Linked DNA regions of Homo sapiens: all the other regions are linked to region 2. The links are contacts of gene promoters, found by promoter capture Hi-C in blood cells and fetal thymus (Javierre and others, 2016). All regions are on one chromosome and are shown on one strand. The core of a region is centred on a gene start or on the middle of the fragment in contact, and the rest is flanking DNA. Distances in the headings are between cores, read along the strand shown. Region 1 overlaps PML (PML nuclear body scaffold). Region 2 holds the start of UBL7 (ubiquitin like 7). Region 3 has its middle 12 kb from the start of CYP1A2. Region 4 holds the start of RPP25 (ribonuclease P/MRP subunit p25).

Region 1 (7,184 bases), core at 712-3,211, 460 kb before region 2:
CTCAGATGCAGGACTTCAGATTAGGGAGGATGGAGGTAGTACCCCTGTTGCGCTGGCCTGGAGCCAGGGGCATGTCCCAGGCACGGCAAAACTAAAACCAACTTCCCAGATCCGAGGTGAGAAACTGGCTCAGACTGAAGAGGTATCTTTGCCAAGGCCTCCCAGCTCATGTGGTTTCTGCTTAAGGAAGCCTCCCCAACGAACCCTTCTCTTGCCACACCTTTCCTGCCCACCTCCCACCTCCCCCGACAAAGGAACTACTTGGGTTTCTTGCTCTGCTGCCTTTCAGGCCCTTTTACTCCCCTTCATGAAAGTACAGAGGACACCGTATTACAGTAACTTTTATAAACATTATTACAACTAAGAATAACATTACTTAACAATACTAGGTAACATTTATGAGCACTTCAAATGTGCCAGGTACTGTATTAAGCACTTTGGTTTTTTTTTGTTGTTGTTTGTTTGTTTTGCTTTGTTTTTTGTTTGTTTGTTTATCTGTTTGTTTTTGAGACGGAGTCTCACACTGTCGCCCAGGCTGGAGTGCAATGGTGCGATCTCGGCTCACTGCAACCTCCTCCTTCCGGGTTCACGCCATTCTCCTGCCTCAGCCTCCCGAGTAGCTGGGATTACAGGCCACGCCACCATACCTGGCTATTTTTTATATTTTTAGTAGAGATGGGGTTTCACTATGTTGGCCAGATTGGTCTCTAACTCCTGACCTCGTGATCCACCCACCTCGGCCTCCCAAAGTGCTGGGATTACAGGCATGAGCCACCATGCCCGGCCTGTTTTTGTATTTTACAAAATGTGGTAAAATATACCTAATGGATAAGTTCCTATGTTAACCATTTATAAGTGTACCATTCAGTGGCATTAAGTAGATTCACAATATTGTGTAACCATCACCACCATCTATTTCCAGAACTTTTTCATTACTCCAGAAACTCTGTACTCTTTAAACCATAGGGGAGGGAAAGATGGCTTGCCTCCACCCTTCTAGTTTCCTTGGCTGGGCTATGAATTAAATAGCCTATGAATTAAATAGTCATAAAATAGATTACCAGCGGAAAACCCATATTTAATTACATATGTATACTCAGGAGTCCCACAATATATGAGACTCAAAGAAAGGTCAGATGATTGAAGCCTGTATAACATCCTGAGCTACGGAAAAGAGCTTGGAGCTTCTGGGTGATGGTGATAACACAAGTTATGGGAGGGTGAGGAGAGGAGCTGTTTGGTGAATAGAGGTTGTCTTGCTATGTAGATTAAAAGTTCTTAGATAATAAAAGTTGTCTGGAGCAGCCCTCTTTTAATATAGATCATTTTACTAATGTAGATTTTCTTTTAAGATATAAATGCCTTTCTTTTTTACAAAAGGAGAGCTTTTCAGAGCTATTCCTGTATCAGCAGTTTCTCAGAATAACCAGCTTAAAATATGCCAAAGAAGTATATTTCAAGAGCCTCCTGCAGTCATACTTTGAAGTGGTGTGTCCTGAGCCCCAGTAATGCAATAGCTCCTCATTTTCTCCTTCCCCTAGCCCTTGGTAACTTCTAATCTACCTTCTGTCCCTATGAACTTACTTATTCTAGATATTTCATGTAAGTGGAATTGTTACCAGTAGAGGATCTTGACTGCAAATTGTTCAGGTTCTTGGCATTTTGAACAAAGAATTGGACAAAATGTACAGCAAAGCAAGGAAAGAGTGAAGCAATGAAAGCAGAGATTTATTGAAAATGAAAGTACACCCCACAGGGTGGGAGCGGCTAGAGCAGGGCTCAAGGACCCCAGTTACAGAATCTTCTGGGTTCCAAATACCCCCTAGAGGTTTCCCATTGGCCACTTGGTGTTCACCCCATTGGTTGCAGAAAGCAACCAACCAGACGTACTTTCAATTTTCCATCTGCCCTGCAGGAAATGGGGTGATTTGCAAAGAGAGTAGCCTCTCTTCCTTTTGTTACTGAGGCATGGAGAGTTGCGGTTTTCCTTTCGATTTAGTTCTAGGAAGTCAGAGGGAATCGGCCTTAGGTTCCCTGCCTCCAGACCCTATTCTCCTGCCTCAGAATCATACAGTGTTTGACCTTTTGTGACTGGCTTATTTCACTTAGCATAATGTCATTGAGGTCTATCTATGTTGTAGCATGTATCAGAATTTCATTTCTTTCTAACGCTGAGTAATATTCCATTATATGTGTAGACCACATTTTGTTTATCTATTCATCTGTTGATGGATACTTGGATTGTTTCTACATTTTGTCTATTGTGAATAGTGTTGCTGTGGACATTGTTGTACAAGTATCTGTTTGGGCCTTGTTTTTACATCTTTTGGTTATATATCTAAGAGTGGAATTTCTGGGTCATATTGTTGTTCCATGCTTACCTCTTTAATGAACCCCCAAACTGTGCATTAAGCACTTTATATGAGGTTGGTACTTAGTGTATCTACCTTCCAAACTGAGTTCCTTGAAGGCAGAATGTATCCTACACCTCTTATATCTCAGAGCCTATTACTGTGGGTGATGAGAAGTAGATGCTCAATAAATGGTGCAGTGAGAGCTGGAGGGCCTGAATAAATGGGGGTATTGGGGTGCTGATAAGCCAGGGTTTTGCATCATCCAATGACTGGCTGGAATGGAATATGAGGTCCTACTCCAGGGTCCAGCTGTAAGGGTGGTTGGCCGGTAGGTGGGGGCTTTTGGGACTTCTCCAGGCCTCACCTGCCTCTCTGGTCCCCCAGCGAGCCCCCGCTTCGGAGGAGGAGTTCCAGTTTCTGCGCTGCCAGCAATGCCAGGCGGAAGCCAAGTGCCCGAAGCTGCTGCCTTGTCTGCACACGCTGTGCTCAGGATGCCTGGAGGCGTCGGGCATGCAGTGCCCCATCTGCCAGGCGCCCTGGCCCCTAGGTGCAGACACACCCGCCCTGGATAACGTCTTTTTCGAGAGTCTGCAGCGGCGCCTGTCGGTGTACCGGCAGATTGTGGATGCGCAGGCTGTGTGCACCCGCTGCAAAGAGTCGGCCGACTTCTGGTGCTTTGAGTGCGAGCAGCTCCTCTGCGCCAAGTGCTTCGAGGCACACCAGTGGTTCCTCAAGCACGAGGCCCGGCCCCTAGCAGAGCTGCGCAACCAGTCGGTGCGTGAGTTCCTGGACGGCACCCGCAAGACCAACAACATCTTCTGCTCCAACCCCAACCACCGCACCCCTACGCTGACCAGGTGAGTAGGCCGGCACAGGGTGGGGTGGTGCATCCAAGTACCAGGTAGAGGGCGAGAGGAGCAAAGATCCAAAGAGTCACACAGCTGAGGACAAGGAGCTTCTGGGGCCTTGCAACTCTAAATGTGGTCTGCAGATATGCAGTGTCCGTGTTGATGACCACAATTTATGCTGCCAGTCCCCACGCAGGTGGATAGTAAGTTTCCAGTTTCCTCCTGTAATAAATAATGCTGCAGAATCATCTTTGCATCTTTATCCAGTAACTTCTTTAGGATAAATTTTTAGAAGTGCCACTGCTGGGTGTAGGGGGACGGGAATTCTACATTTGATACATGTTACCAAACTGCCCTTTAGAATTTAGTGGAATTTTCCGAGAGCACTGACACGGAATCTCAGTAAGGCTGGATTCTAGGATCAGAGACAAGTAGTTAGTTTCTGTCTGAAAAGTTGAAACCATTAACACCAGGCAGCGCTATCTGAGAATGTCTGTATGGGGAAAAAAAATCACATCCAGTTGTAATTATTTTTATTAAACAGATTTTAACTCAGTTTTTTAATAGGTAATACATTCGTACAGTTCACGAACAAAATTTGTAAAGAGGAGAGAGAGAGTGCAATCTTCTGTCCATGCCCAACTGCCTAATTCCCACCACTTCTCCCTCTTCCCATCCACAGGTAGCCATTGTTACTAGTTTTGAATGTTTCTTCTGAGAGTTTCTTTACGAATATATATGCAGGTAGGAGCAATCTTATCAGGTCCTATTTTCCCTCTTTTAGCCAAAAAGGTAGCATAACTATGTGAACTTTTCACCATTAGCAATAGATTGTTCATAGAAGGCGCTTCTTGGTTCTTAGAGATCCACTTGCAAAATGAAAGCATTTTTCGCTGGTTTTTGACAACTCAGAACTATATATGGCTAAACCACATATTTGCTGAACTACATATCTGCTAAACTGACTGTGATTTGTTTCCTGCTTTAGGATAAACTTCCCACACTATCAGAATAAGCTTTCCCCTCCGACTCCTCAACAGCTGGTATCACCACGTTTCTTAGCTTATTGTAAAGGTTGAGTGGCTTTCCACTTGTTTATTGGCCATTGTGTTTCTGCATTTGCGAGTGGCCTGTTTAGGTCCTTTGCCTGTTGTTGTTGTTGTTTCCGTTGAGGAATTAAGGGACTAATTAAAGAATTCAGGAACAAATTCCTCGAAAGAAAAAAATGTATGCATTTCTTTTGCTCTTACAATTTATGCAGTTTTAAAACTTACATATTTATTGGATTTTGATTGAAATTGCAATAAATTAGGAGAAATTGGCTTTATCTCTGGTTCTATCTTTTGGATTTAAAAAATTTTTTTTAATTTTTTTTTTTTTTTTTTGAGATGGAGTCTCGCTGTGTCACCCAGGCTGGAGTGCAGTGGCGCGATCTCGGCTCACTGCAACCTCCACCTCCCGGGTTCACGCCATTTTCCTGCCTCAGCCTCCCAAGTAGCTGCGATTACAGGTGCACATCATCATGCCTGGCTAATTTTTTGGCATTTTTAGTAGAGACAGGGTTTCACTATAATGGTCAGGCTGGTCTCCTGACCTCAGGTGATCCACCTGCCTCGGCCTCCCAAAGTTCTGGGATTACAGGCATGAGCCACCATGCCCAGCCTTATACTAATTTCTTAATGAATTTGTAAGCTTTCATGTTTTGAACGTGATAATGCAGCCATCCCACGGGATCCATGGGAGTCTGTTTCAAATTCATAGATGCTCAAGTCTCTGATATAAAATGGCATAGTATTTGTATATAACCTCTACACATCCTCCTGTATACTTTATTTTTTATTTTATTTTTATTTTTTGAGACGGGGTCTTGCTCTGTCGCCCAGGCTGGAGTGCAGTGCTGCACTCGTGGCTCACTGCAGCCTCAATCTCTTGGGTTCAAACAATCCTCCCACCTCAGCCACCAGATTATACAGGACTGCAGGTGTGCACCACCACACTCAGCTAATTTTTAAATTTTTTGTAGAGACAGGGTTTCACGACATTGCCCAGACTGGTCTTGAGAACTCTTGGGCTCAGGCAGCAACCCTCCCTAGGCCTCTCAAAGTGCTGGGATTACAGGTGTGAGCCACTGTACCCATCCCCTCCTGTATACTTTAAGTCATCTCTAGATTACTTATAATGCCTAATACAATGTAAATGCTATGTAAAGAGTTGTTTTACTATATTTTTGAATTTGTATATTTTTTTATTGTGGTACTTTTTTAATTGATTTTTTTTCGCCTGAATATTTTTGATCCAAGATTTGTTGAATCCACGGGTGCGTAACCTGCAGATACTGAGGGCCAACTGTACATATAAATTGTTTAGCGTAGTGCCTGGCACATATTAAATACTCAGTGAATGTTAAAATTCTATTATAATTTCTCTGCTCTAGAACAATTTGAAGAATATAAGAAATTTAGGCTTATAAAAGTTTTTTGAAAAACCATCTTGGAACTGGTGCCTTTTTTATAGTAGATTTTTGGGAACTTTTCCCATTTTTGCCATGGCATTAATCTGTTTTGGCTCTTGTGTCAGATTTTTGGAAGATTTTCCAGTTCATCCTGAGTTATCTTTCATTATTTAAAAATCTCCTATATGCCTGTAACTATACCCCCTTTTTTTATTTCTGATGTTGTATATTTGTGGTTTAGCAGTCTTTTCAAAGTACTGTACTTTTAGTCTTTCCTTAGATTGCTTACTGATTTTAATGTTTTCCTTCTTTCTGTTTGATCATTTTATTTTTGTCATTTTCTTCCTTCTAACTTTTGTCATTATTCATTTTCTAGCTTCTTGAACTTATAATTCATTTATTTGCAATCTTTATTGTTTAATAATAATAACTTTTTTTTTTTTGAGAATCTCCCTCTGTCACCCAGGCTGGAGTGCAGTGGTAGATCTTGGCTCACTGCAACCTGTGCCTCCTGGGTTCAAGTGATTCTCCTGCCTCAGCCTCCCCAGTAGCTGAGACTACAGGTGCCCACCACCATGCCTGGCTAATTTTTTTTATTTTTAGTAGAGACGGGGTTTCCCCATGTTGACCAGGCTGGTCTCGAACTCCTGGCCTCAAGTGATCCACCCGCCTCAGTCTCCCAAAGTTCTGGGATTACAGGCGTGAGCTACAATGCCCTGCCTAATAATAACTCTTTTAAGGCATAAGTTCTCTGTATATGGTTTTGGCTGTATGCCATAACTTTGATAACTTCATTAGTGTTCTCATAGTCAATCATTTCTCAAATTTCATTTCAGTCTTTTCTTAAAAAGGTTCTCTTGCTTAAGGTCAAGAGTTCGAGATCAGCCTGGGCAACATAGCAAGACCTCATCTTTACAAAAAATAAAAAAAATTAGCCAGGCATGGTCGGTGGTACATGCTTGTAGTCCCAGTTATTTGGGAGGTTGAGGCAGGAGGGTTGCTTGAACCTAAGAATTTGAGCCTGCAGTGAGCTGTGATGGTGCCACTTCACTCCAACCAGAGCATCAGAACCGGACCCTGACTCGAAAAAAAAAAAAAAGAAATTTTTTTCTCTTGAAAAGTTTTAGAGAATAGTGTTTTCTAAAATTTTCAAGTGGTTTTGATGTTTGGTTTCTTGTTCTGTCACCCAGGCTGGAATGTGATGGTGCGATTTCATACTTGTTAATTTCTGCACTATGGCCAGTTTATACAGTTTGTATGAGTTCTACATCTAAGACTATATTGAGATTTTCTTAGCGGCCTAGGATATTCCTTGGACTCACATATTCCTAGCAATAATCCTTAGAGTTGAAAAGTTGTATTTGTTGTACACACATATATATACATACACAAATATATGTATATAATATATATGTGTATATATGCATATATCTATATGTATATATCCATATATATGTAAGTTCTAGTGCTTGTGTGTGTGTGTGTATCTCCACGCTATTGAAACTTTCTACCTTTCTTTCTTTTCTTTTT
Region 2 (7,306 bases), core at 12-2,511:
CTCCAGCCTGGGTGACAGAGAGAGACTCTGTCGCAAAAAAAAAAAAAAAAAAAAAAAAAAAAGCCAGACGCGGTGGCTCACACCTGTAATCCTGTCACTTTGGGAGGCCGCGGAGGACGGATCACTTAAGATCAGGTGTTTGAAACCAGCCTGGCCAACATGGTGAAACTACATCTCTACTATAATAGAAAAAATTTGCAGGGCGTGGTGGCAGGCGCTTGTAATCCCAGCTACTTGAGAGGCTGAGGCAGGAGAATTGCTTGAACCCGGGAGGTGGAGGTTGCAGTGAGCCGAGATAGCGCCACTGCACTCCAGCTTGGGCGACAGAGACTCCGTCCCTCCCTGCCCCACCCCGGCCCCCCAGAAAAAGACCTCTTCCAATACCTCTAAACCATCTATATAAATTAAGTCTAAACTTCATCGCCTGGCTTACAAAACTCCCTGCCAGCCTCATTCCCCAACAGAGCCCTACCCCTGCAAAGGACCTCCACAACATGTAAGTACACACTCATAACAAAGCTCTCCCCTATTTTACACCTCTGCTCATCTAACTCTGCATGTAATTTCTCTTCCCTTTTTGGCCTTTTAGCAAACTCCTACCGAAACCAACACAGATTCAATAACCTCAGTCCCCTCTCTTTCCTCTGTTGTTCCCACATCCCCTCAGAACAAAAGGGCTACAAATATCTGCTTGCCCCCTCCTCCACCCCAATTCTTGAATGCCCTTGAAAACAAAAGACTAAAGTTTTCTTCATCCTTGTCCCCATACCTGGCATACATGGAACCCCAGAAAATAAATCAGAAACTCTGACGGCGGAAGAATCTTGCAAAGCAAGATAAGTTCTTGTTATAGTCATCATTATTGCTTCCAAAGAGACCTCTGATAGAGAAGAGGAAAGAAAAGGCTGTGAAGCTGCCTAGCAGACCTTCAAGCATCCTCAAGGTATCTTCCACCTCAAGTTTATGCCAGAAGGAGGTCGTTTTATATACCATGTCTCACTTAATCCTCACAACGGTTCCCTAAGGCAGGCATTAGCCACATTTTAAAGATGAGGGAAGCAAGACTCAGTAAAATCACTGGCCCAAGGTCACAGATCGCTAGTAATGGGGCAGGAACACTATCCGGTGGCGACCTCACCGCTCCAGTGGGACCAGCTACTTGGCTGACACACATCGAGCCCGCGCTGCCCAGGGCCCCAGCGCCCTCACCCGTCCCGCGGAAGGAACCCGGCCGCACTGCCGCCGGTGTAAACACTCACTCTGGCCCTCTCGCCGGAAACCGGAAATTCCGCGCTGCATTCTGGGAGTTGCAGTTCCCGCTGTGGCCCCCCGCCCCCTTATAAACAGCCAGTCTACAAGAGGCGCTAGTTGCAAAGCTTCCGGTTCTGGGGGAAGGCGTGGCTTCCGCGCTCTTTGAAATGTCCGGCGCCGGAATGTCTGGGTGCTTTGGTTGGAGAGGGTCCCATTTCCAGTCATTCTTCAGCCTGGTGATTCCCGCGCTCCCCTGAGGAGCATATGAAGTACGTCGGTTCTGCCAGGTTGGAACGCGCTGCTGGACACTCGGCCGTAAGGCGGATCCCGGATCCCCTCCCACTCCGACCCTTCCCTCCAGAAGGGCCGGTTCCCAAACGGCCCCTTTAGACACATCCAAGCGGTTGCCGACGGCCCTCACGATGAAAACTGCTGTCCGTTGGTGAAGGCAGCCTCTTCTGTGCTCCTCGCCGCTGACTTCCTGAGGCGGACCTACCTGTGGAGGCATACCAGGAACCAGACGATGACCCCCTCCAAAAGTTGGGTCTTTGAGGAGAGCTACTAACTTGGGTTCCTGGTACACCCTCTACATGCAGTGGTGAAGCTTATCTAACAGTCATTCATAGAATCAGTTTGGGAAGGGGAATTTTCACTGAACTCTCATAGAGAAACTGTGTTTTAGATAACAGAAAGTTCTGCACGGTTAAAATGGAACAGAAATTTTTTTGCACAGAAATTAGGATTACCGAAAATACTGAAGAAAGACTACCTCTGATTGGACTCTTCTCAAGGAATTAATAATTCAAGAACTAAGGAAAGAAAAAAGTGATTATATGAAAATACTGAAGTTGATCGTAGCAGCTGAAGGCTGATCCTGTGTGGGTAAATGTAAACGCTGAATTCCCACATTCCAATGTGCGACCTGGGATTAAGGCAGCAATTGAGCAGGGTAATGTTACTGAGGAGAGCGAACAGATCGCAGGATCTCAGAAGGCCTAACATTAAAGGCAGATCACCCCTCTGTTCTCATAAGTTATATGGGGAGTTTTGAAATGGCTTTCACTGTCTTCAGGGAGTTTATCTTCAGGATAACTCCCATGTATGTTGTGGGCGCATTAGGAACCCATGGCTGTTCCCAAAGTCTCCCTTTCCCATCCTACCCATTTTTAGATATACCCCCTCTTTCAGTAATCCTTCCTAACTAGACTTCTTTAGACTCCTTCCTCTCCTGCCTACTAAGTTACTTGCACCTGAGCTCCATAATTTATCAAAATTATATATTGTGAATACTTTCCCAGTTCATGATTTTTTTTTTACTCTTAATGGTATTAGATAATTTAATTTCATTTTAAAACTTTTTTTTTTTTTTGAGACGGAGTCTTGCTCTGTCGCCCAGATTGGAGTGCAGTAGTGGCCGATCTCGGCTCACTGCACCCTCCGCCTCCCGGGTTCAAGAGATTCTCATGCCTCAGCCTCTTGAGGAGCTGGGGCTACAGGTACCTGCCACCACGCCCGGCTAATTTTTGTATTTTTAGTAGAGACGGGGTTTCACCACGTTGGCCAGGCTGCTCGAACTCCTGACCTCAGGTGATCCCAAAGTGCTGGGATTACAAGCGGTAGCCACCACGCCCGGCCTGAAATTTTGTTGTGATGGTTAGTGCCTTTTGTGTCCTATGTAAGAAATCTTTGCCTGCCCTCGTTATGAAGATACTATCCTAGGTTTTCTTCTGTGTTATTTTATCTTTCACATTTAGGTCTATGATTAATTTCACATTAATCTTTGTATATGATAGGAGTTAGACATCAAGATTCATCTCTTCCATATGGGTGTACAATTGATCCAGCACTATTTAAAAATTTTGTTCCCACTGAATTTCAGTGGCAGCTTTGTCATAAATCCGGTGACTATGTATGTCTGGGTCAATTTTTGACTCTTATTCTGTGCCATGGGTGTATTTTTCTGTCATTGTGCCAATGTCACACGTCTTGATTTCTCTAACTTTAGAGTAGGTCTTGATATCTGCTAGCCTTTTGGCTTTAAGAGGGGCATGGCTATTCTATCACCAATAGATGACAATTGTTAACTTTGTTTTATGCTTCTAAAAGTATAATTTTACTGAATCTTAAATATGTATATTCAACAAAATTTAGATTACACTGTACATTTGTTTAGTAATCTACATATTTTACCTAGCTTGAATATTTCCCCTGTGCTCAAATATTCTTGAGACTTTTTACTTTGAAATAATTTCAAGTTTACAGTACAGTTGCAAAAATATTACAAAATAATGCCCTCATACCCTTAACCCAAAGTCCCCAGTTGTTAATAGTTTACATTTACCTCATCATTCTTTCTCTCTCACTCTCTCACTATGCATATTGTTCTTTTGTTTTTCCACCCGATCCGTTTAAGAGCCAATTACAGACATTACCCAAAGTATTTCTGTATTTCCTGAAAACAAGGATATATTCTATGTCACAGCCACAGTACAACCCAGCAAAATCAAGAAATTAATAAATACAATAATACCATGTAACTTACAATCTCATTCAGCTTTCATCAACCATTCCAGTTGGGTGGAGGCTGATCATCTCTCTGCCATTTTCATAAGTTATGTCATAGATTTTCACATCTGTCACATCATTCATTTCTCCAAAGAGCCTTAGTTCCTTTTAGTAAGGAATGGTATTTAGAAGCCAAGTTTGGATGCTAGGTGTGTTTATTGCTACTGAGATGTCATTATTTCCAGTCTATTTCAGTGACTAGACCTAGCAAATAAATGAATATTGATATACACACCCATTCATCTATATTTCTATGAAATATATTTAAATATGTGTGCATATAGATGTGTATATGTATATATAGATCTATGTATATGTGAGCATATATATGTGCACATATATCAAAATATATATGTATATATAAAATATGAGTTCACACCAATACCTCAAATTCCAATCCAATACCACATATTTTCCTCTAGTCTTCCTCTTCTCTATAATTTTACCTCCCTTCTGCAATAGTAGGAAACTTGATTCTCATTTTCCACAATATACTTGTATTTTCTCATGTTGACATTCATGGTACCTGATATGGTTTGGCTCTGTGTCCCCACCCAAATCTCATGTTGAATTGTAATCCTCAATGTTGGAGGAGGGGCCTGGTGGGAGGTCATGATGTTTGGATCATGGGGCAGACTTCCCCCTTGCTGTTCTCATGACAGTGAGTTCTCAAGAGATCTGGTTGTTCAAAAGTGTGTAGCACTTCCCCCTTTGCCCTCTCTCTCCTGCTCTGCCATGTGAAGATGTGCTTGCTTCCCCTTCACGTTCTGCCATGATTGTATGTTTCCTGTGGCTTCCCCAGCCATGCTTCCTGTATAGCCTGCAGAACTGTGCGTCAATTAAAGCACTTTTCTTTATAAATCACCTGGTCTCAGGTAGTTCTTTATAGCAGTGCAAGAACAGACTAATACAGTACCATAACAATGGAGCCTCCTCTTCAACTTGATTCTTGAGTCCTTTTGACATAACCCTGGAGGTTTTTGATAGCTCCCTGCTATCTAGCATGACAAGAGTTCCTAGCTAATCTTGTACTTCCTGCCCTAGGCATAAAAATTAGCCATTTCTTCAAGAAATTCATATGGTTTTCTGTGGGAAATGGTATATTAAGACCACAATCTGGGCACTAGGGATGCTTATTGCTACTGAATTGTTTGTTACTTGTAAGCCACATTAGTGGATGGAGCTAGGGGGAGATCTATATCCATAGAGATATAAATAGAGAATATTTATACTGCTACTTCAAATTCAAGACTACAGAGGTTGGGTTTGGTTTTGGCTTTTGGTTTTATGGGTTGCTTTTTGTTTTGTTTTTTTTGAGACAGGATCTCCCTCTGTTGCCCAGGCTGGAGTACAGAGGTGCAATCATGACTCACTGCTGCCTCAAACTCCCAGGCTCAAGCGATTCTCCCACCTCAGCCTGCCAAGTAGCTGGGACTACAGTTGTGCACCACCATGCCCAGCTAATTTGTGTATTTTCTGTGGAGGCAGGGTTTCACCATGTTGCCCAGGCCGGTCTTGAATTACTGGACTCAAGCAATCTGCCCACCTCAGCCTCCCAAAGTAAGACTGCAGAATTTTAATTTAATATTTTCTATATTACATCTTTATTTCCTTTCTTCCACACTGAGAATACTAGTTCTCAAGAACATAAGGGACAACAGTATTTAAATATCTATTTTCATTTCCTTTATCCCATATCACATACCCAACTGTCTCAAAATAACAATACTAATGATACTATCACCACCAATATAATTATTGAGACGTTTAAAAAAATGTTTGCATATGCCCTTCTCATTCTATCCCCTCCATTCATTCTCTCCATTTTAACAGATGTGCTGTATATTATCTGAGCCTATACTCATTACTCTACCTTCCTCTTTTTAACTCTCTTAATACTACAAAGAATTCCATGTTTAGGCCAGGTGCGGCAGCGCACACCTGTAATCCCAGCACTTTGGGAGGCTGAGACAGGCAGATCACCTGAGGTCAGGAGTTTGAGACCAGCCTGGCCAACATAGTGAAACCCTTCTCTACTAAAAATACAAAAATTAGTGGGGGTGTGCTGGCGGGCACTGTAATCTCAGCTACTTGGGAGCTTGAGGCAGGAGAATTGCTTGAACCCAGGAAGTGGAGGTTGCAGTGAGCCGAGATCACACCATTGCACTCCAGCCTGGGCGACAAGAGTGAAACTCCATCTCAAAAATAAATAAATAAATAAAATCAGAATTCCATGTTTAATGCTTTCCACTGGTTTTTGTTGCTGTTGTTGTTGTTGTTTTGTTTTGTTTTCTGACACAGAGTCTCACTGTATCACCCAGGCTGAAGTACATTGGTGCAATCTTGGCTCACTGCATCTCCACCCCAGGTTCAAGCGATTCTCCTGCCTCAGCCTCCCAAGCAGCTGGGATTACAGGTATGTAGCACAATGCCCGGCTAATTTTTGTATTTTTAATAGAGACAGAGTTTCACCGTGTTGGCTAGGCTGGTCTCAAACTCCTGGCCTCAAGTGATTCACCCGCCTTGGCCTCCCAAAATGTTGGGATTACAAGCATGAGCCACTGTGCCTGGCCCAGTGGTTTTTATTACTGAACCCGTTCTTTAGTGGATTTCCTGGAAGGACTACAATATTCTCTGTGAATGATATTCCCTAAACTTTTGCATATTAATAGCAGTTTATTTCTGGCCTTTATGCTTGAAAATCAGTTTGCTAAATATAAAATTGTTGGCTCACATTTTCTTTCTTAAGATATTTCATTTTCATCTGATGACAGAAATCTAATTTTCTTTCCCTTACAAGTTACTTGCTCTTTTCACCAGGTTGCCCAAGTAGTTTTTAAAATTTTTTGTTTAATTTCCAGTCATTTTACCTGACTACATCTTGGTGCTGTTTGTTTTAGGTCAGTAGTCTCAGTTATGTGGTATTCTCTTCCAAAATGTAATTTATATTTTTTTTATTTCAGTAAAGATTGATTTTTGAATTACAGGTTTTAGAATAGTTCCGTTCTCTTGCCTTGGTTTGGTTCTTAAGAGGACTCATGTTAGCCATATGTTGTATCTTTGTTGTTTCTCTTCAATATCTGCCACTTTTCTCAAATCTTTTCTCTTTCTTCATTTTTAAAAATATTTTTTAAATGTTCCTCCTTTCTACATTCTACTTAAGGCATCATCTGTTGTATTTATTTCTTCTGTGTTCCTTTTGCTTTAGTCTTCATTTTGTATTTATTTTTTATTTTTTATTTTTTGAGACAGAATTTCGCTCTGTCGCCCAGGCTGAAGTGCAGTTGCGTGATCTCTGCTCACCACAACCTCCACCTCCCGGGTTCAAGCAATTCTCCTGCCTCAGCCTCCCAAGTAGGTGGGATTATAGGTGCCTGCCACAGTGCCCGGCTAATTTTTATATTTGTTAGTAGAGATGAGGTTTCACCATGTTGGCCAGGCTGGTCTCAAACTCCTGACCTCAGGTGATCCACCTGTCTCAGCCTCCCAA
Region 3 (7,575 bases), core at 3,763-6,262, 300 kb after region 2:
GAAATCCTGTCTCTACTAAAAATACAAAAATTAGCCAGGCATGGTGGCGGGCGACTGTAATCCCAGCTACTCAGGAGGCTGAGGCTGGAAAATCGCTTGAACCCAGGGACAGAGTTTGCAGTCTCACTCTGTCGCCCAGGCTGGAGTGCAGTGGCACCATCTTGGCTTACTGCAGCCTCAACCTCCCAGGCTCAATCGATCCTCCCACCTTGGGACAACATATGCAGGCCACCATGCCTGGCTGATTTTTCTAATTTTTGTAGAGATGGGGTTTTACCATGTTGCCCAAACTGGTCTCGAACTCCTGATCTCAAGTGATCCACCTGCTTCAGCCTCCCAAAGTGCTGGAATTACAGGCATGAGCCACTGCGCCAAGCCAAAAAAATTTTTAAGAGTAAAACCTGGCCAGGCACAGTGGCTCACGCCTGTAATCCTGGCCCTTTGGGAGGCCAAGGCGGGTGGATCACTTGAGGTCAGGAGTTCGAGACCAGCCTGGCCAACATGGTGAAACCTCGTCTCTACTAAAAATACAAAAATTATTCGGGAGTGGTGGCACACACCTGTAATCCCAGCTACTTGGGAGGCTGAGGCAGGAGAATCAAATGAACCCAGGAGATGGAGGTTGCAGTGAGCTGAGATTGCGCCACTCCACTCCAGCCTGGGCAACAGAGGGAGACTCTGTCTCAAAAAAAAAAAAAGGTCGGGGGCGGTGGCTCACACCTGTAATCCCAGCACTTTGAGAGACCGAGGTGGGTGGATCACAAGGTCAGGAGTTCAAGACCAGCTTGGCCAATATGGTGAAACCCCATCTCTACTAAAAATACAAAAAATTAGCCAGGCGTGGTGGCAGGCACCTGTAATCCCAGCTACTCGGGAAGCTGAGGCAGAGAATTGCTTGAACCTGGGAGGCGGAGGTTGCAGTGAGCCGAGATCACGCCACTGCACTCTAGCCTGGCAACAGAGTGAGACTCCAGCTTAGAAAAAAAAACCCATCTCTACTAAAACCACAAAAATTAGCCAGGCATGGTGGCAGGTGCCTGTATTCCCAGCTATTCTGGAGGCTGAGGCAGGAGAATCGCTTGAACACCGGAGGCAGAGTTTGCAGTGAGCCGAGATCACGCCATTGCACTCCAGCCTGGGCGACAAGAGCGAAACTTTGTCCCAAAACAAAAAGCAAAACAAAACAAAAAAAACCTCCCGGCAAGCCGCAAGCAGGCATTGCCATACTTTGCCAATCTAAGAATCAGCAGGGCCCAGCTCCCTGAGGTAATTTCAGGACCGATCTGAGGTGGCTCGATGGTCACCATACAGCCACTGCCCCATCTGGCTCACTGTGGTCTGGAGATGGCTTGAGCTTCTCATGCACACCTGGCCAATCTTTAACTGGTTGGCCTAGAGCTCCCCTCTGGCCAGAGCCAAGGTAGGAGGAATTGGAGACTTCGCCCCGCTGCTTGCCATTCCTGCCTCCCACAGCAGGTACGAGGCAGGTGGGACCAGCCTGTTCTATCTTTTCCTGGTAGGCCCTGGACACGCATCATCTCAGGCTATTCTCACAACAACCACAGGAGATGGGTACTGTTATACCAACTTTAGAGATGAGAAGCCTGAGGCTCAGGAAGCATGAGGAGGGCATGTGTGGTGGAGAGATTCAGGACTGCACCATTTGCCCTATACCACCTCCAGGGTCTCTTCCCTACCTGTGTCTCTCCCTGAGTCAGGATTGTGGGACTGGAACAGGAAGCTTGGAAACACTACATGATCAAGGAACGGCATGGAGAGTTAGAAAGAGCTCTTGGCCAGAGGGCTAGGAGTCCTGCACTCAGGTTCCAAGTGTGGGTGACCTTGGGCCAGTCCCACCCCTCACAGGCCTCGACCCCATCTTCAGCCTTCTGTGAGGTCTTCTCCAGCACCATTAGCCTGAAGTTCAGGCCACTAGCAATGACCCCTGCTCTGCCAGCCTCTTGCTTAATAAGGCTGTGGGCAAATCCAGTGAGTGCCTGGCAAATTTCGAAGTGCAGTGTACCCGGTGAGGGGTGATTTTTGGCAAAGATGGTGGAATGAAAGATGGTAGAATGGTGGGAAAAACCTTGAGCTGGGAATCCCACCTCTGCCTGGTAGGGAAAATTAAGAGACTTCTCTAGACCTCCCCACCTGTTCAGTTCAGATCCCCAACTCCCTTTATGTCAAGCATCTACCACCAACCAGATACCAGATCTTTCGTTTATATCTTAGTACAGGTCTTTCTTGTTTGTTTGTTTTTTGTTGTTTTAAAGAGATGAGGGTCTCCCTCTGTCCCTCAGGCTGGAGTACACTGGCGAATCATAGCTCACTGCGGCCTCAAACTCCTGGGGTTCAAGCAATATCCTCCTGCCTCAGTCTCTCAGTCTCCTGCCACCGTGCCGAGCTAGTTCAGCTTCTTTTTTTTTTTTTTGAGATGGAGTCTTGCTCTGTGGCCCAGGCTGGAGTGCAGTGGCGCAATCTTGGCTCACTGCAAGCTCCACCTCCTGGGTTCATGCCATTCTCCTGCCTCAGCCTCCTCAGTAGCTGGGATTACAGGCGCCCACCACCATGCCCGCCTAATTTTTTTGTATTTTTTAGTAGAGACGGGGTTTCACCGGGGACGGTCTCGATCTCCTGACCTCGTGATCCGCCCGCCTCCCAAAGTGCTGGGATTACAGGCGTGAGCCACCGCGCCCAGCCTAGTTTCAGCTTCTTGAGAGAGGGGTTTGATTGGCTCAGCTCATCTTTTTCAGCCAGGCTACACAGGTCAGAGACCACAGTCAGTCAGTGGTTGGGTCCCCTTGGAGCAATGTTTACCCTGGTAAATAGCCACAGGCAACAGAGTGAGGGTCACAGGGTCTAAGCTACCTCAGCAAGGGATCCCTGCACACAAGTCCTGGAAGAAACAATGGCACAGCGGAAAGCTAGCGGAACACACAAAAGCCTCCATTTGTCACTTTTCTGCTCTGCCCACCTCTCCTCACACCCACACTACAAAGAAAATTATCTTTGCTCTCATCTTTTCCCGTGACTCCCAGGTTGAGACCTCCTAACAACAAATTAGAAATAGCTTTAACACACACCCCATTGCAAACCAGCTTACACTGCTCTAACTAAGGTTGGAACACTGGGTCAGGTGGTCTTGCCTGGCTCTTTTTTCCCTAAGGGTGACCTCCCTCCCAGGATTCCACTCAGTCCCTATGCAAATGAACTCAGTCACTGGGGTCTCCCTCACCCAGATCTGCCCAGATAAATCTCAGCCTCTCTCTCTCTTTTTTTTTTTTAGGTGGAGTCTTGCTCTGTCGCCCAGGCTGGAGTGCAGTGGTGCGATCTCGGCTCACTGAAACCTCCGCCTCCTGGATTCAAGAAATTCTCCTGCCTCAGCCTCCCAAGTAGCTGGGACGACAGGCATGTGCCACCATGCCCAGCCAATTTTTTTTTTTTTGAGATGGAGTCGCGCTCTGTCGCCCAGGCTGGAGTGCAGTGGTGCGATCTCAGCTCACTGCAAGCTCTGCCTCCTGGGTTCACACCATTCTCCTGCGTCAGCCTCCTGAGTAGCTGGGACTACAGGCGCCCGCCACCACACCTGGCTAATTTTTTGTATTTTTAGTAGAGACGGGATTTCACCGTGTTAGCCAGGATGGTCTCGATCTCCTGACCTCGTGATCCGCCTGCCTCGGCCTCCCAAAGTGCTGGGATTACAGGCGTGAGCCACCGTGCCCGGCCAATTTTTGTATTTTTATTAGAGTATGGGATTTTACCATGTTGTCCAGGCTGGTCTCGAACTCCTGATCTCAGGTGATCCACCCACCTCGGTCTCCCCAAGTGCTGCAATTATAGGCATGAGCCACCATGCCCAGCCAAATCTCAGTCTTAAAGTAACTTGCCCCCCAAGGAAGGATTTTCCAGTTGACAAAGGAATCTGAGGAGGGTGCAGACTCTCTGAAAGAATGGTAGTGAGTATACCATCTGGGTGGGGGAACCAAGCAGAGGCTGACTAGACCAGGGTTTATGCAGTTCAGCGTCAGTCCATGAGCTTGCCCTATATCTTATCCCTATCACTGGCTCCTGTCCCTGAGAGGGGACTGCCACCAGAGGTAGCCATACCCTGAGCCAAGCTCCCCATTCTTTAGTGATCCCCCTCAAAATTAGTTCTGAGACCCTGCATTCTGTCCACCCCTCTGCCATGACATAACACCAGGTTCACTAGAGTCCTCTGGAGTACAGCTGCGATGGAGCCTCTCAGGCAGTGCAATGGGGCGGAGGGGGGCACTTTTGGGCAAGGAGCCTGCCCGATGCCCATCACCCTGCACTAATAAGGGAAGCAGACTCTGCTCTGCATTGAGGGACCTGCACTCTCCCTGTGGGCCCTGCAGCCCAGCGGGTTTTTCTGGGTTTAAGATAACATAGTGGCATAGGTGATACTCAATAGGTTCCCCCAGGCCTTCACCTCTGTATTTACCCCTCCACCCCAGGCCAGTATTAAGATAATTACAGGGCTTGGGAAAGGGAAAAGAGATGAGACCAGAGGCTGGCTCACAGATCCAGAAGAAAATCCCAGCTCACCCACTAACCTTGGGCCTGTGACATAAACTTTCTGAGTCTAGACTTTCTCATCTCGCAACTGGGGATGATAATCTTATCTTACAGGTTGGGTGGGAGGTTTAATGAGATAATGTGTGTAAAGTGCCAAATTACAGGTCAGGGTACAACACACACACACACACACACACACACACACACACACACACACACACCAGAAATCCTGAGAAAGGTGGACTCAGGGCAAGATGGACCCCCGACACACGTGTGGCATGTGCAGCTGTGCACACACCAGGCCCACACGTGAGCCAGCATTTCCCCAAACCCTGCGCTCTCTCACTGGGGTCTTGCCAGGGCCTGGGCTCAGCCCACTTCCTTCCACTGCTCCCCCCACCCAGAAGCTGGGGAGGGCTGGGGGTGGTAGCGTGCCAGGGAACAATGGGCCCCCAACCCCTTCCCGCCCATTGCGTGAGAAGGAGCTGCCGGAAGGAAACTCACCTCCCAGTGGGACAGGCCGCCGCCCCCCTGACGTCTGCCCCAGGGAAGTCTGGAGACCCCCATGCTGCTCAAGGGGCGGGCCTCTGTGCACTCCAGGCCTGCCACCCTTGGGACATCCTGTTTTCACCACCTGGACTGGCTTCCCCCGCCCCCTCTTTCAGAGAAGATGGTCCCAGACCCTCTCTCTGGGGCTGGGCTGGGTTCCCCACAAGAGTCTAGGGCCCTGTTCTCATTCATCTCTGTGTCCCCCGTGTGTAGCCTGTTCCGGAGTCGTCTCGAGGAATGCTGGCCAACTGCATGAGAGGCTGAGGGAAAGGAGCCAGACTAGGGGTGATCAGGGACCCAGCAGCTGAGCCAGAAAACATGAGAGAGAGAAGGGCCCAGCTCAGAGTGGCCAAAACGCCTGTGCTGCAGATAGGGGTGTGGTCCCAGAAATGCCTCTGGAGAGCACAGGGCATGCTGTTGAGGGCTGGGGGATGCTCTCCCCCCAAATTTTTGGAACACTCAGCTCAGTTTCATTTGTGTAGTGACACTTCCCTTACAGGCCCGCATTCCTCTCTCTCTCTCATACACAATCACACTCATTCCAGGGGTCTCAGCAGCTCCACCATCAGATGGGGGCTCTTAAAGGCAGGGGTCAGGGAGGAGGCCAGGAGCAGATGAGGAGCTGTTCTTGCACCGTGCCTATCCACACTTAGCAGGATAGCTCAGAGGGTCCCCACCAGGCTGGCTGCTGACCAGAAACTCTGGACATCAATTTCCCCAGCTAGAAAATATGAAGAGTTGGGGGGCCTGGCTGAAACTGACCCTGCCCTGGGCCTTGCTGACCTGGGGTGGCCCAGCTGAAAGTGCCAGTGGGCCGGCAGGGGCTGGGAGCAGGCGTGGGCACGCATTTTGAACCCTAGTCTCGGGTGTGTCGATAAGGCAACAACAGACGTGAGTGCCAGCTCTCAGCGGGTGCATGCGCATGGGCAGATGTGGCCTGGAGTGGTCAGGTGGATGCCTGTGCGTGAGTTCTCCAGGTGTCAGTTCAGGTGGCTCAGCACGCCAGCCAGGTATGTGCGTGTTTGTAGCCAGGCATGTGTTTACAGGTGTGCCTCTATCTCCTGTGCCCTCAGGGCCAAGGGAGCCGCTGGCTCGCGTGTCTGAGAGTCCTTCTTGCCGTGAGAATCATGGAATCTCAAAGTCCCCAGATTAGTGCTTCCTCCAAGGTGGGGGCTGGAGTGGGGTGGCTGGCTGGGTAATCAGGCAGGTTTGGGAAGCATGCTTCTGCTCCTGCTGGCGGGCCATGGTTACATCTGAGGGCTGGGAGACCTGGACTGGTAACTCTACCTCCTTGGACAGCAGTAGTGGGGGGCGGGAAGCTGAGGCCCTGCCCAGAGTTTTGGGGGTCCACAGTGATAAAACAAGTAGCTGAGCACAGTTGGGCAAATTTCAGCAACCATCGCACACCAGACAGGCTGCGCTCTGGGTCAGTGCCTCCACCACAAACTCGGCTCACTGCAAGCTCTGCCTCCCAGGTTCACGCCATTCTCCTGCCTCAGCCTCCCGAGTAGCTGGGACTACAGGCGCCCGCCACCACGCCCGGCTAATATTTTTGTATTTTTAGTAGAGATGGGGTTTCACCGCGTTAGCCAGGATGGTCTCGATCTCCTGACCTCGTGTTCTGCCCGCCTTGGCCTCCCAAAGTGCTGGGATTACAGGCGTGAGCCACCGCACCTGGCAATTTTTTGTATTTTTTAGTAGAGACGGGGTTTCACCGTGTTTGCCAGGATGGTCTTGATCTCCTGACCTGGTGATCCGCCCGCCTTGGCCTCCCAAAGTGCTGGGATTACAGGTGTGAGCCACCACACCTGGCAAGGAATTGATTTTTTTAAAGTAGTATGAGAGTGGAGAAAGCCTTTCTAAGTTTGACACAGGTCCAGAAGCGGCAAAAGAAAAGACTGATTCCACTGCATAAAAATCAATCATTTCTGCATTCCAAAGAATCATAACCAAGTTGGAAGACACACAAGGAACATAAGCCGGTTGGCTTCCAGTTCTCCCCTTCAGTCCCCCTCCATCCCGTGCTCTGTGAGGGGAAGCTGACCTGTGGGGCTTCTATCCACAGACTCCCTGGCCCTCTGGCTCCTAGACGGGTTCATAGAATGGAGGCTCTCACAGGAGATGGGGATGTGTCCTCTGAGGCAATCCTCTCCATGCAGCTCTTTCCCCCAGTAGCATTCTTCAGGCACTACCCTCTCAGGGCCCCCACCGTTCCCTGCCTAACCCCGTGTAATAATCTCTGTATTAATCCTTCCTCGAATTAAACTGTTTCCTGCTGGGGACCCTGAATGATGCACAGATTAAAGGTTAATTTCTTTAATATATAGAGTTCCTATTAAAAAAAAAAAATCCAGGCCGGGCGCAGTGGCTCATGCCTGTAATCCCAGCACTTTGGGAGGCCAAGGCGGGCGGATCACGAGGTCAGGAGTTCGAGACCAGCCTGGCCAATATGGTGAAACCCCCGTCTCTACTAAACATACAAAAGTTAGC
Region 4 (7,218 bases), core at 1,923-4,422, 490 kb after region 2:
CGTTACCCTCTGCCATCTCCTCTATCCATCAGACACCTGTGGCAGCCTCAGCATCATACACACCCGCTCTCTATGCTCTGCCTGGAGCTCCCTGTCCAGTCTTGGTCAGCTGGCTAACTCCTGATCCTTGGAGAACCAGCTCCATCAGCACCTCTGGGCAAGGTAAGTTCCCCTTCTCAGAGCTCCCATCTTCTATCATCACACTGTGCTAGATGGGCCCAGGCTGGAGTGCGATGGCACATCTCAGCTCACTGCAACCTCCACCTCCTGGGTTCAAGCGATTCTCCTGCCTCAGCCTCCCAAGTAGGTGGGATCACAGGCGCCCGCCACCATGCCCGGCTAATTTTGTATTCATCATATTGGTCAGGCTGGTCTCAAGCTCCTGACCTCAGGTGACCCCCCCCCCCCCGTCTCTGCCTCCCAAAGTGCTGGGATTACAGGCGTGAGTCACCACACCTGGCCAAGACTCGGCCCTCTTTGAGGTACAGTGTCTGATTATGCTGTGATTCTATACCCAGCCCCAGCCCATTTCTAGACTGGGTCCCGGTACAACAGTGAACACTTGTTGAATGAATGAAGGCTCAGGTGGAAGTCCATCACTCATTCGACCATGAGCTCTGGGCCTTGCATTATATACTTTTATGTTTCCAAATGGATTTTGTTTTTGTGACCTAAGTTTTCTAGGTGTGAGACTTCACTGCCGCTCCTAGTCTGGAAGTATCCCAAGGCGGGGCCAAGGCAAGCACCAGGCTGGGTCCAGGAAGCTCCTGGGTAGAGACCACTATTGGAAAAATGGGGTTTCACAAGAGGGACTCTCCCACTCTGCCACTAGTCGGCTCCTGAAATGGGCCTTGTCTCTGAGGTGCTCCCCTAGCCACCCCTCCCTTTATCCCAGGACTTCTGAGGTTCCCACTTCAGCCTTGGTGGTGGGGAGCGGGTAGAGGAACATCTGTCACCTTCTTTTGGAGCCTGCTCCTAGGTCAGTGGGGCCAGAAATCAGTAGGGCAGAGATGGAGTGCTCATGCGTGCTGGGTTCCATTGGTGAGTCAGCACACCTACTGAAAGCCTGGGAACCAAACTTGCCGGGGTGGGGCGGGAGTGCAGAAAAGAAAGTGTTTCATGACCTGCTTGGGGGAAGGTTAATGCTCTGATGCTGGATAAACATGTTCCTCTCTTCTCTACCCCCCAGGATAGGTTTCTGGGCTGGAAGGGAACTTTTCTGACCCATCAAGAGAAATCCACTGCAGGCCGGGGGCAGTGGCTCACCCCTATAATCCCAGCACTTTGGGAGGCCGAGGCGGGTGGATCAGTTGAGGTCAGGAGTTCAAGACCAGCCTGGCTAACACGGTGAAACCCCGTTTCTAATAAAAATACAAAAATTAGCTGCTCATGGTTGCCCACGACTGTAATCCCAGCTACTCAGGAGGCTAAGGCTGGAGGATTGCTTGAACCTGGGAGGCGGAGGCGGCAGTGAGCCAAGACTGTGCCACTGCACTCCAGCCTGGGCAACAGAGTGAGACTCCGTCTCAAAATAAAAAATAAAATAAAAAAATAAAAAGAGTCCGGGAGCAGTGACTCATGCCTGTAATCCCAGCACTCCAGGAGGCTGAGGCGGGTGGATCACCTGAGGTCAGGAGTTTGAGACCAGCCTGGCCAACATGGTGAAACCCCATCTCTACTAATAATAAAAAAATTAGCCGGGCGTGGTAGTGCACACCTATAATCCCAGCTACTCCGGAGGCTGAGGCAGGAGAATCACTTGAACCTGGGAGGCAGAGGTTGCGGTGAGCTGAGATTGTGCCATTGCACTACAGCCGGGCGAAAAAATATATATATATATAAAATCGTGGTGGCTCACACCTCTAATCCCAGCACTTTGGGAAGCCAAGGCAGGTGGATCACAAGGTCAAGAGATTGAGACCATCCTGGCCAACATGGTGAAATGCCGTCTCTACTAAAAATACAAAAATTAGCTGGGCGTGGTGGCACATGCCTGTAATCCCAGCTACTTGGGAGGCTGAGGCAGAAGAATCGCTTAAACCCAGGAGGTGGAGGTTGCAGTGAGCTGAGATTGCACCACTGCACTCCAGCCTAGTGACAGAGCAAGACTCCTTCTCAAAATAATAATAATAATAATTAAAATAAAAAAAATAAAAAAGAGAGGCCGGGTGTGGTGGCTCATGCCTGTAATCCCAGCACTGTGGGAGGCCGAGGCGGGTGGATCACCTGAGATCAGGTGTTTGAGACCAGCCTGGCCAACATGGTGAGACCCCTTCTCTACTAAAAATACAAAAACTAGCCGAGTGTGGGGATACACGCCTGTAATCCCAGCTACTCAGGAGGCTGAGGCAGGAGAATCGCTTGAACCCAGGAGGCAGAGGTTGCAGTGAGCCGAGATCGCACCACAGCACTCCAGCCCGGGCGACAGAGAGATACTCCGTTTCAAAAAAAATAATAAAAAAAAATCCATTGCAGCCTTATCTCCGTGACAAGACTAGCAGACCCTGCTTTCTTTTTTTTTTTTTCGAGACGGAGTCTCACACTGTCGCCCAGGCTGGAGTGCAGTGATGCAATCTCGGCTCACTGCAACCTCCGCCTCCCAGGTTCAAGCGATTCTCCTGCCTCAGCCTCCTGAGTAGCTGGGATTACAGGCGCCCGCCACCATGCCTGACTAATTTTTGTATTTTTAGTGGAGACGGGGTTTCACCATGTTGGCCAGGCTGGTCTCAAGCTCCTGACCTCGTGATTTGCCCGCCTTGGCCCCCCAAAGTGCTGGGATTACAGGATTACAGGCATGAACCACCATGCCCGGCCTCAGGCCCTGCTTTCATAGTCCTGGTAACCCGGCTATCAGTCACTTGTTGTCTTGGAAAGTTGGACCCTTTTCAGAACCAAGACCAGTCTCCCTTAAGCTTCTACCATGCAGGACCTTGTCCAAGTTTTATCACTGCCTTTAGATGCTGAAGTCCAGGAGAAGCTAGGCCATCTTGTCAGGACAGTTTACATTCTTTCCATGCTTCTTGGGCCACCCCTGAGAGGGTCAGACAAGCAAACCCAAACCCCTTGGCCCTCTCCAGGGACTCATCAAGAGCAGGAATTTGGGGAGAGCAACGAGGGACAAAGTCTGGATGACAAAGCTCACTCCAAAGCTCAAGCAGAGATACTGCAGGGGAGGGAAACCTCCCTAAGAGCCCCTCCAGTCAGCCACAGAACGTATCTCTTGTCACCAGCAGGATTTATTTCAGGGTTCTGCCAGCAAAATGACTTATAAATACATTCTTCCGCATCTCCCCCTTTCCAGGGGTGCTGCTGAGTTGCATGGGATGAGATCTGCTTCTGAGATCCTGGGGCTGTATGCCACCCCCAACTCACCAGAGCTCTTCCAGCACACAGCAGCACCCCCACCCCCCAGCTGGCTTGGAGTTGGGCAGAGAAGCTTATGAGGCTGTTATCTCTCAACAGACAGCTGTGCAGGGCTGGAGGCAGCAGCTTATCAGGAGGCCTGCAGTGATTCACAGCCCAAGACCCAGCTTCTCTGCTGAATAGTAATTTCCAGCAGTGGATTTGTGCTCAGTCTCTCTCCTCCCCCTTTCCCAAGGGTGTGCTGTCCTTTCTCAGAGAGAGGGCAGTGAAGGGGAGATCCTACCCACAGAGCTGGGGGCTTTGTGCCAGCCTTCTGGGTAAGGTTCAGTTTATTGTCTGGAGGCTGCAGATTCAGGGACCTCAGCAGGGTCTGCCACCCTTTGCAGTGACCTCCAGGAGAGTTCATCGATGCTGTCCTTCCACTCCTTCCTTCCCCTCCCAGAAAAACAATGTGCCGCTCCCTTTCCCTTAGTGGCGATGTACAGGGGTACACGGGCCCCCATTTGCAACAGCCTCTGAGGCCAGGGCCAGCCCGGGAGGGCGGAGTGGGGGAGGAGAGAGGAAGAAGCCAGGGACTGGGCAGTGCCTTGCACCATTTTGAAGCTGTTCAGTCTCTGTGCCTGACCCTGAAGACTCCAAAGACTCAGGACGCAAGGCTGGAGGGGAGGGGAGACACAAGGGGCCAGGCGAGAGCTGTCTCTGCACAGGCGGGTGGTTAGAAAAAAAATGGGGGACACAGCCATTTTTGTGCTTGTTTTATTGGAAGCAAGACTCCAGCCAGCTGCAGGGCTCAGGGGAGGAGGCCTGGAGAGTTCAGTCCTGGGTCTCCCTCTGGGCCAGCAGGGGGAAAAGGGGTGTTAAAAGAGCTAGAACCCTCAGAGATGCTCCTCTGAAGCAGGGGAAAGAAAACTAGAAAGGAAAACTGTCCCAGGGCGGGGAGCGGAATAGGGCCCCCACATCTCAGACTCTCCTACCCTCAAGCAGTTAATTCTCACCCCCTGCCTTCCTCTGTCAACGGTGGGGGTGATTCCAATAACTCTTCTCAGCTTCCATACTTCAGGTGCTCTTCGTGAATGCTGGGTGGCTTTAACCCTTGGGGGTCCCAAACAAGTTTCCAGAATCCCACTGTCCACCATTCTCCCCCAAAGAAGGTCCCAGAAAAGGTGAAGTTCCGTGTCTTCACGCAACACGGGCATAAGCAGCAATTATCGCACGAAGTTTCCCTAGGGTGGTCGGGGATCCTCTCCTGCCACTCCTGGGGCCCCTCTCTTGTCGCCTTAAGGTCCATGCTACCTGTCTTGAGGAGCTGTGTCCAGGTTGTGGGCTCCGGAGGACCGAGGAGTGAAAGGCTGGAGGTACATCTGAAGGTGGAGGCGCTGGCGGAAGATCCTGCCGGACTAGGTGGCCCACAGTCCGGAGTTTCAGGCCGTCTGATCCTCGTCCGCAACCCCTGGCTCGGGTTGCGATCGCTTCGCGGAGCCTTCTCCAGCTGCGGGTTCCCCTAGGCTCCTCTTGGACGCTGGCGCGGCTGGCGGGGACGAGGGACCAGGATGGGGATTCGGGGGCTGGTAGCCGGGCTGTCGCGGATCCAGCGCGTCCTTGGAAAGTAGGATGGCGAGGCCGGGCACGTTCTTAAGTACGCTGAGACTAGCGGCCGGCTCGCCAGGCGTCTGACCCTGCGTGGGCCCAGGCGGGAGGCTCTGCCACACCTCGCGTACGCTCCGGTAGCGCAGCCGCGTGACCTGGTGCAGGCCCGCCAGGCGGCGCTTGAGGATCTCGGCGCACGTGACGGTTTTGGTGGTGGCCCGGCCGCAGCCGCTGAAGACGATGGCGCGCGTGGCTGGCTGCGCCATGCTGGCGGTGGCGAAGGCCATCAGGTTCCGGATCTTGCTGCCTTCCTTGACCCGCATGTGCACCGCGCCCGGCGCCAGGTCTGCGAAGGGGCCGGAGCCCGGGCCGCCTCCCTCGGCCCCGCACCCCGCTGGCGCCTCTTCGGAGCGCACCTTACGGAAGTTCTCCATGCGCCGTCGTCGCCGGGACCGCCGGCTTTGCCATGGGGCGGCCTCAGCCCCGGGGCTGCATGGCCGCCGGTCGCGCCTTGCAAGGGCCAGCAGGGGTAAGGGCGCCGGAGCAGCGCAGACGCCGGCGGGCGGGCTGGGACGGCGCGATCTCGGCCCCACTTCTCTCGAGCGGGCGCCGCTCTACTCAGCGCTCTCGGCGCCGGGTGCTCCGCGCCTTTAGCTGAGGCCCCGCCCCTGCCGCCAGGCCCCTCCCCTGACCCGGCCCGGCCGGGCCCGCCCGGGCCCCAGCCTCACTAGCCTTTCCTGGCGAGTCTGGGTCCTCAGCTACGCGGGCGTGGGAGCGGGCGCGCTGCGGGGCGCATGAGCAGGTGAAGGTGAAGTTCCACTATAATCGCCATCAGCGCTCTGAGAGCCAACCCTCACAAACCGGCAGTCTAAATAAAAGCTGCGCTTGCCGTGCAAACACTGCTTCAAATCCGGTATCCGAGCCCTTCCCATTTGCAACTGAAGGCCGCCCCTCGTCCCCTCCCAGGGAGAGATTTCCAAGAGGCTTGCTGGGGCCTTGCCCCTCCTCCCCCGCCCCGGGGAACACCCCCACCTTTTTTCCGCTCCCAAGTATTCTTGCCTCAAGGACAGCTAGTGCGCGGTCAGCAGAGTGCGGGAGGAGCTGGCTGCGGCTCCACTCCGCGCCTCCCCGCGGGCGATTACGTCGCGGCGTGGTCCTCGCGGGGCGCGGAAGACCCAGACTTCAGCCTCGCCACGCCTGCCCGGAGCTCGAGGCTCCCGGACCCCCGTCCACCCCTGGGACGTGAGGAGTGAGGCTTTGGGCCAGGCTGTTCCCCGAGGCGCGTGGGGAAGCGGGCGTGACCTCTTCTGAAAAGGCGGTAGGCTCGCTCCACCCAGGCCCTAGAGCCCACCCTTAGAGCTGCGCGCTTTAGGGTGAGCCAGGCACGATGCCTTGCCAACGTGGCCGCCCCCTTCCTCCCAGGCGGAATTCGCTCAGGCAACATTGGCCCCTTGAGATCCAGTGGGGTCCTTTTCGAAAGGAGGCTAGGTGAACGCAGGTTTTAAAAAAGAGAAGGGAGGGGCCGGGCGCGGTGTCTCACGCTTTTAATCCCAGCACTTTGGGAGGCAGAGGTGGGCGGATTACTTGACGTCAGGAGTTCGAGACCAGCCTGGTCAACATGGTGAAACCCCGTCTCCATTAAACGTACAAAAATCAGCTCGGCGTTGTGGCACGCTCCTGTAATCCTAGCTGCTCGGGAGGCTGAGGCAGGACAAGCGCTTGAACCCGGGAGCTGAAGGCTGCAGTGAGCCGAGATCATGCCACTGCACTCCAGCCGGGGCGACAGAGCAAAGCTCTGTCTCGAAAAATGAATAAATTAATTAATTAAATAAAATACAAAAGAGAAGGGAGGGATACCCCATTCTCCAGGATGTGATTATTATGCATTGCATGCCTGTATCAAAACGTCTCATGTACCCTCTAAATATAGACACCTATTGTATACCCACAAAAATTAAAAAGACTTAAAAAAAAATAAAAGAGAGAAAGAAGGGAGGAAGATGGGGAGTTGAAGCCCTGGGGGCATTATGGAACTACTGGATGCCTCTCCGGCGGAAACTCCACGGGACCGAAAGAGAGGCCCGGGGTCTCCTGCCGGGTGAGAGAAGCATTAGAGAAAGATGAGATTGGGGGCTGTCAGGACTACTGATGGAAGGGAGGGGGTCTGAGAAGGGGCCCGACCCTCCCTAAAACTGCTCTCGGGATTCCCCCGTCCTCCTTCCACCCGCCCTACGCAGTCAGGACTGAGAGAGGGCGGCAGATCTGGTC

Evidence for each region. The method cuts DNA at HindIII sites, captures the fragments that hold promoters and counts their contacts. A CHiCAGO score of 5 or more calls a contact.
Region 1: a contact is called between a fragment that was not itself captured here and the fragment with the promoter of UBL7 in region 2, in 5 of 17 cell types (fetal thymus, erythroblasts, total CD8 T cells and 2 more). The highest score is 8.3, in fetal thymus.
Region 3: a contact is called between a fragment that was not itself captured here and the fragment with the promoter of UBL7 in region 2, in 1 of 17 cell types (M0 macrophages). The highest score is 5.4, in M0 macrophages.
Region 4: a fragment that was not itself captured here is called in contact with the fragment with the promoter of UBL7 in region 2 in 1 of 17 cell types (naive B cells); the score reaches 5.7 in naive B cells.

The regions. Positions count from the first base shown.
Region 1 is chr15:73,995,266-74,002,449 of GRCh38, forward strand. PML (PML nuclear body scaffold) reads left to right here. Exons shown (of 9, transcript NM_033238.3): 2 at 2,739-3,211. Among named protein-coding and RNA genes, the nearest start is that of PML, 4.1 kb to the left of the region's middle. RefSeq lists enhancers at 1-33, 2,323-2,825. The HindIII fragment of the contact is 4,510 bases long and covers 1-4,216 here.
Region 2 is chr15:74,459,899-74,467,204 of GRCh38, forward strand. It overlaps UBL7 (ubiquitin like 7), which reads right to left and starts at 1,262. Exons shown (of 11, transcript NM_032907.5): 1 at 1,139-1,262. UBL7-DT (UBL7 divergent transcript) reads left to right here and starts at 1,367. Exons shown (of 4, transcript NR_120377.1): 1 at 1,367-2,129; 2 at 6,138-6,232. RefSeq lists enhancers at 1-347, 503-1,349, 804-893, 1,184-1,333, 2,281-2,781. The HindIII fragment of the contact is 11,059 bases long and covers 1-1,374 here.
Region 3 is chr15:74,757,550-74,765,124 of GRCh38, forward strand. No RefSeq gene overlaps it. Among named protein-coding and RNA genes, the nearest start is that of CYP1A2, 12 kb to the left of the region's middle. RefSeq lists an enhancer at 6,078-6,192 and a cis regulatory region at 6,085-6,183. The HindIII fragment of the contact is 6,546 bases long and covers 1,740-7,575 here.
Region 4 is chr15:74,951,200-74,958,417 of GRCh38, forward strand. It overlaps RPP25 (ribonuclease P/MRP subunit p25), which reads right to left and starts at 5,573. Exons shown (of 1, transcript NM_017793.3): 1 at 3,219-5,573. The coding sequence starts at 5,384. The coding sequence ends at 4,785. RefSeq lists enhancers at 3,389-4,322, 4,323-5,256, 5,257-6,190, 7,185-7,218 and a silencer at 5,216-5,865. The HindIII fragment of the contact is 524 bases long and covers 2,911-3,434 here.